Regions from separate parts of the Homo sapiens genome. Here region 1 is linked to region 2. The links are contacts of gene promoters, found by promoter capture Hi-C in human tissues and cell types (Jung and others, 2019). All regions are on one chromosome and are shown on one strand. Each heading gives the region's core, a stretch centred on a gene start or on the middle of the fragment in contact. The rest is flanking DNA. Distances are from core to core; before and after follow the strand shown. Region 1 holds the start of RNF34 (ring finger protein 34). Region 2 holds the start of MSI1 (musashi RNA binding protein 1).

What was found. Contacts are between HindIII fragments. The study calls those that stand out against the background at their distance.
Region 1: a contact is called between the fragment with the promoter of RNF34 here and the fragment with the promoter of MSI1 in region 2, in 1 of the 25 tissues and cell types used here (dorsolateral prefrontal cortex).

The regions. Positions count from the first base shown.
Region 1 is chr12:121,398,739-121,402,247 of GRCh38, forward strand. It overlaps RNF34 (ring finger protein 34), which reads left to right and starts at 1,380. Exons shown (of 6, transcript NM_025126.4): 1 at 1,380-1,480. The coding sequence starts at 1,475. RefSeq lists enhancers at 923-1,002, 1,488-2,019, 2,020-2,551. The HindIII fragment of the contact is 20,899 bases long and covers 1-3,509 here.
Region 2 is chr12:120,367,746-120,371,196 of GRCh38, forward strand. It overlaps MSI1 (musashi RNA binding protein 1), which reads right to left and starts at 1,419. Exons shown (of 15, transcript NM_002442.4): 1 at 1,288-1,419; 2 at 1,088-1,128; 3 at 447-528; 4 at 263-347. The coding sequence starts at 1,346. The HindIII fragment of the contact is 19,353 bases long and covers 1-3,451 here.

The DNA.
Region 1 (3,509 bases), core at 130-2,629, 1.0 Mb after region 2:
AGCTGCGTCCTACATCGTGAATGAAAGGCTTTCTGTACATTTTTCCAAAAAAAACCTAGGACTATTATGGATAAGAAGTGACATTATCTGAGCAGCACTTGAAGCAAGAGAAATACATACTCTGATGCATTATTTCAGTCTAAGGAAGTGGCCTGCCACGCACTCTCTCTCTCTCCGTGTGTTTTAATCTAATATAGCACAACTTGTCGAAGCAAATCTATAATGTATATAAATAACAGAACAGTCTTAGGTCCTCATGAAGAGCGAACTGACTTTTTTATGTTTAAAATCTTAAATACTGGTTAAGTTAGAGGTGAGATTAAAAAGTGTAGGAAAATCGGCTGGGCCCGGTGGCTAATCTCAGCACTTTGGAAGGCCGAGGTGGGCGGCTCACCTGAGGCCAGGAGTTCTAGACCAGCCTGGCCAACACAGTGAAAACCAGTCTCTACTAAAAATAGAAAAAATTAGCCGGGTGTGGGGCGGGCGCACGAAGTCCCAGCTACTAGGGAGGCTGAGGCAGGAGAATCCTTTGAACCCGGGAGACGGAGGTTGCAGTGAGCCGAGATCACACTATTGCACTCCAGCCTGGGCAAGAGCAAGACCTTGTCAAAAATAAAAAAAAGGTGTAGGAAAATAAACTGTCATCCAGTACAGCTGAAGAAATCGATACCTTAATTTACAACCTCAGTTTCTCTGTCCAAAGGCAATTCCAAGACTCGAGCAAATTCTTTTATTATGCTACGATTTTGGTTATTTTGAATACAGCTTTTCAAAGAGCCCTTGGGATTTGAGAGCCCTTGGTTTTCTAAGTGTTTTCAATAAGTCTTGTTTTTAAAGGCCGCGTCCTAGCGAGTGCAGCTGCCGCTCCTTACCGGACCCACGAGTGAGGAGCCCCGAGGTCATCACCGAGCATGAACGCGGGAACGTCTGGGAAGGAAATCTGAGGCCCTGCTCTGACGGTCATAACAAAGGCCTTCGAGCCAACCGGCGTGTTCAAATTCACCACGGCCCTTCCCGCGCTCCCCTCCCCGGAAACTTGACCACCTAGCCCAGAAAGCCGCAGCAGCTTCCTCAGGGACGCTATCTCCCATTTCAAACACCCAACCGAGAAAGCAGCGCCGCAGCGCGCCTTCCGCCACGCCCAGGTCCGCAGGTCTTCGCTCGGGGCGGAAAAGAATCCTCCCCGCGCACTCCCAGCCAGGAGGAACGCCAGAGGCCCCGCCCAATCCCTGTCGCTTCATTGGCTCTGGTGACCGGCCTCCCGAAAGTCGGCTTCCTATTGGTCGTCGTGGCCGCCGCTCTGCGCTTTTACCGGGGCACGCGGCGAGCGTGACCACGCCCCTTACGTCCGGACGCTCGGTCGCCTCCCGGGGCGCGGTAATCACCGCCCAGAGGGAAGGAGGTCGGCAGTGTGAGGAGCTGCTATGGTGCTGAGTTTCCTGGTAGAGCCGGCCGAGCTGAGGCGGTCGCGGCCATGAAGGTGAGGGGCCGGTGGAGCCGGACAGACCCTCCTCGCCAATCCTATCCTGCCAGGGCACCTGAAGCGCCTCCTTTCTTTCCGCCTTAGCGGTTACCTAGTCGTCATCTCGGAGAGCTGCGCTGAGGGGGGTCGCTTGCCCGGCTTCAGGTGCCCCAACCGAGCCAGGGCAGGCTGCCGGACCCTCTCGAGCTCCTCCAGTGCCACCCCCGTCAGCGACCCGAGCGGTGGGGAGAAGCCGGGCGTCCCTAGCGTTCGCGCCGGGTGGGCCCCTCTCTGCGCCGGGCCCTGTGCGCCTCCTCGGGGGCCTGAGGCAGAGCCGCCAGGGCTCGCCTGAGCCTCGGTCCCTTGGCGCGCGGCGTGCCCTTTCCCGCCCCGAGTCCTTGAACTAACCCAAGTGTTGGGGACATCGTGGGACCGAGGAGAACAGGAGGGGTGCAGGGGGTGGTGAGGCTAGGGCCAGGCTAACGGGTTAAAGAACTCTCAGGGTGGGGATGCCACCCGGAAGGGGTGCTTCGTAGGCTGCACGTCGGGGCCGCGAACTAGAGAAGGCTGGATGTGCCTCCATCGCCACTAGGTAAACGCAGCAAGGAATTTGGCAGCTTGAGTTCTCCAAGGTGGGAGTGAGAGCGTGGGAGCATTACTGATGAGAAGTTGAAGAAAAGGGGAAAGGGGAGCGGGGTTTCCGGCCTACTTCTGAGAGATGATTCTCAACCCGATCACTGAGAGTTCTGAAGAGCTTTGTGAACAGCAGTCAGTTCAGGGTATTGATTCATTTGCCGAACTCAAACCAAGTGGGATGAGTCATAAGGTGATGATAACTTTCAGACCTAGATGGTTTCGTTAATCTCAGTGCAGAGGTGTGCTGGGGGTGGGTAATCTAGCAGGTGAGCTGCTAGATTAACGCTGTCTCCATAAAGCGTCAAAGATTTACTATAGAAGATTGAAAAAGAGTGTCAGCTGGTCACAGAAATTCAGCACATGTTTTGTTGAACGTTTTCTGTGCGTTAGCCAAGAGGGAGACATGGTGAAGAGAAGTAATTCAAAATACAGTCTCATCCCTTAGGAAGGCAGTTTACCATTCAAAAGAAGAGTTATTTGTAAGTAACCATATTACAAGGCAGAAGGCTATAGGTATCAAAAAAAAAAAAAAAAAAAAGGCAGGGACAAAACACAGGAGCCAGAAAGGATACTTCTGGCTACAGAAAGCAAGGAATATTTTTGGAATAGGTAACTTTGGAACTGTGCCTTGAAGTATGAGGATATTGTAAAAGCTTATTTTTAACTTTCCAGTTTAGTTATAAAATATTATTACAGCTTGAAATATCTATTAAAGTATCTAGAAGTAGCTTTATTTCCTGAAAACCACCCTCTGCTGTGTTAAGATCCAAAAACAAAGCAGGGATCTTTATATATAATGCCTCGAAGAATCAGTATCTTTATTAATATTAAATTTGTGGCCCATTAAGGAACTAGCTATCGAAGGAAAGAATTAGAGACAGGTCCAGTGTTGAAATTTTTAAACAAGTTCTTTGAAAACAGACGTGTGTTTTGAATTGAAGTGGAAGGTACTACTTTCTAAGATGAAATTTTAGAAACAAAGTTTGGTGGCAATTGAAATTATAGAAAAGATACGTATTTTCAGAAGCAAAATATGGACCTGAATAGACATCAGCCTGTGCCAGATGACAGTTATAAATGATGCTTTTGTTTTTGTGAAACTGGATTTACACCATTGAGGATTTGGGCTGTTAAATGTTTATTATTTAACTTAATGTTGATTTATATTGAAATTGTTTAATTGTGGGTATGCTCATCTGTAGATTTCTGGGCAGAGACTGATTCCTGATGTCATGGAATGCTAACATGTGAATGTTCATGTAAGGAAATACTTCTTTCTGTGGAATTAAAATTACATTAAAAGCTAAGCAAGTATACCTGGCCGGGTGCAATAGCTCACGCCTATAATCCCAGCACTTTGGGAGGCCAAGGCAGATGGATCACTTGAGGTCAGGAGTTCGAGAACAGCTTG
Region 2 (3,451 bases), core at 169-2,668:
GGGAGAGGGTGGCGGCTGCCTCTCCCCTCACCAGGACTAGGGGAGGGGGGATGTAGCATCTCATGGCAGGCCAGGGATTTTTCTCCTCCCTCTCCCCCCCAACTCTAGTGACAAAGTTTCAGAGCATGGCAGCCCTCTTACTCAGAAAAACTCCCTCCTTCCTCATGGACCCCGTCCAGCTGTCCCCTGGGGAGAGTCCTGACCCTCTCCTCCGGCAGCCTCCCTCTCCCAAAGGACCCCCGAAGCCCCGAGGGCCACTCACTGTTTTGGAGTCGAGCTCGTGCCGCGATTGCGCCAGCACTTTATCCACCCCCGCCTGGTCCATGAAAGTGACGAAGCCGAAACCCCTGCGCGCCGTAGTGAGGGAGAGGCAGATGGTTACAAGGCAGTGAGTGGCGGGTGGAGGGGGGCGAGCCGGGAGCAGGAGGAGGGGGTGAGGGGCTCACCTGGATCTCTTGGTCAGGGGGTCCCGCATCACCAGACACTCCTTCACCTCCCCGAACTGGCCGAAGTATTCGCGCAGCCCTTCTGTAACCACACACCCGCCTTCGGACCAGCCCGGGCCCCGCGCCCTTCCCCCCCCCCCGTCCTTTGCCCCCGGTGACCCCGGAGCGGCCCGGCCGCCCCCGCGCCAAGCTGCCCGCGCGTTCTCCACTGCCGCCGCCCCCCACCGCCCTCGCCCCGTTCCCGCTGAGCCTCCTGGCGCCCACCGGGGCCCCGGGAAGCCGAGGGCCGAGCTGGGCTGGAAGGGGGACGGCTCCGGCCGGGTTCCCGCCGCTCCGGGAGCAGCCTCACAAAAGTTTGAGCCGCAGGTGCGAGCGGAGTTGGCGCTGCCGCCGGCGGGTCCCGGGGGCCCAGCCCACCCCCCGATACCCCCTGAACCCCTCATCTGCTCCCCTCCACCCGCTGGGCCGGGTGCGCTCGCGGATCGCCCTGCGCTCTCGGGGTCTCCGGGCGGGGCGCGAAAGAGGGCGCGAGGGCGCCCGGGGTCAGCAGGGCGCAGGGCCGGGCTGGGGTGTCCGGGTCCGGGGCGCCGGGGGGTCCGGGGTGCCCTGCCGGACCGGCGGGCGCTCCCGGGCTCGCTCACCCTGCGTAGTCTGCCAACTGAGTCCCCCGATGAACATCTTGCTGCGGGAGGAGGAGAGACACAAAGGGCCCGCGTGAGCGCCGGGCGCCAGGGCGCAGGGGGCGCGGGCCCGGGCTCCGGGGAGGCCCGGCCGGACCCGGATCGGCCATGTTGGCGGGGCCGGGGCGGGCGCGGGCCAAGCAGGCCGGGCCGGGCCGTACCAGGGGTCGTGCGGCGAGTCCGGGGAGGCGAGGCCGGGCTGGGGCGCGTCAGTCTCCATCGGGAGCCGCGGGCGGCGCGGGCAGCGGAGCGGCGGCGGCGGCGGCGGCGGCGGCGCTCGGCGCGGGGCAGATGAGGAGCGCGGCGAAGGGGGCCGGACGGACAGGCCATGCTGCCCCCTCCCCCGACCCCGCTCGGGCGGGCGGGCGGGGACGGCCGAGGGGAGGGCCCGCCGGGGGCCGACCTGCCGGCTCCTCCCCCCGCCGCCCTGCGCGCATAAAGCCCCGCGCTCGCCCGCGAGCCCGGGCGCCCGCGGAGGCGGCGGCGCCGGGACCCCCTTCCCGCGGGGCTCCTGGGTCTCCGGGGCCGAGCGAGACCCCCGAATCCCGGTGCGGGCCGGGACCAGGGCGCGGCCGCACCCCCCACCCACCCCGGCGCGGGGGCCCGGCCGCGGGAACGCCCTCCCGGAATGAAGCGCTTCCCGGTGCCTTCAAGGTAGCTCGGTTCCGGATCGGGAACCCCCCCGGTCTTCCCTCTCAGGTCCCTGCTGTCCAGAATTGAAGAGAACCCCAATCTCCTCGGGTCGGGCGGGAGATAGCCCTAGTGCTCCCCAGTCCCCACATGCTCCATTTCCCCAGTCGGAGCGAGAAGCCGCCCTCAGAGCCCCCAGTTTCCTCCCAACCTAATTTACAGCCCCCCACCCCCACCCCAGGGCTCTAATTTAGAGCCCTCGCTCCGTTCCCAGGATCCCATATCCAGTTTGGGGGACCCACTCAGTGCCTCGCGTCCCGAGTGGGGAACCTCCATCAGCACCCCAGTAGAAACCGTATCCTCTTCCCCAATCCGTCCTCAGCCCTTGGTGTCCAAAGTGAGAGTCCCCCTTAGTTTCCCCAAATCCCTGCCGTCCACATTAGTGGACCCTATGGTCTGTTGAGAAAATCCCGCGCCCCAAGCCCGGGTTCTCAGTTTGCCGCCACCCCCACCTCCCGGTGTGAGGAGTCTCCCCTGGTTCTCTCCCTCCCTGGCCGGTTTTTGTGAGATCCATTCAGACTCCTGTCCTGATTCGGGAAACCCGGTTCCAGACACTCACCACCCCCACCACACCGAGGCTGGAGGAAAAGGCAGTGCCTCTTAGAGCCTCCTGTTTCCAGTTTAGGAGCCCAACGCCTCAGCTGTGCACCGTCCCCTCCGAATGACCCCCTTCTTTTGCAGAGGTCTAAGCTCCACCCCATCCCATTGGAAGAGCCTAAACTACCTACCCACTGCATTTGGAATGACTTCCCTCAGTCCCTCTTATTTTGAGGCTACTCCCCGTGAAGGCAAACACCTTCCTTTCTACCCCCATCTTCTGGGTCTCTGGGATCCCCCAGTACTTGCACCCAAGGCTCCTTGGAGTCACCTTACGTACCCCTAAAATTCCCTCCCTCCAGCCTGGGAACAACCCTGAGAAAGTATTCTGGTTCACCAGGGGAGCTGCGGGGCCACTCTCCTTATCCCCACCTCTCCTTATCCCCGCCTCTCCATATCCCCACCTCTCCATATTCCCACCTCTCCATATCCAAGCCTTAGGACCCTTCACTTCCCCAGCTGAAACCAGCCAAAAAAGGATCAAACCAGGAAGCTTAGGTGGCCAACACCCCTTCTCCCCATCCCTGCTGGGGGTCTCAGTGCCACACAAGCCCCTCCCTCCCAACTCACCTTCTACTCCTTCCCCCATCCCTACCTTAATCCATCCGGTGTAATCCAGTGACAACCCATGTTGACAAGCCCTTTGCTGTTCACCTTCACATTCCATCCTGAATTCAACACCTTTTATTCCTGGGCATCATAACTCTGACCTCTGGAAGGGTGCCCATCCCCCTCTTGATAGCCCTCCTTCCCTCTCCCCACCCCAACCATCAGGCAGAGAAGAAAGTGAGAGACTTACAGTAATGGTTTCCTTGGGGACCTTCTGGGAATGCTCAGCAGGTATATCCTGCCACCCTGTGAGCATAACACTAGAAACAAACTTGCTTTTTCCTGTTTGTGTCCCCTACTCTGCCCCACAGTTTCTCAGCATCCCCTGGACTGGGGACTGGAGGGCCACCCACACAAGGCATTTCTTACCATTCCGACACAAAAGCATTCCAGTTTGTGTTGTAGCAGAGACACAGATGAGGGTGAGCA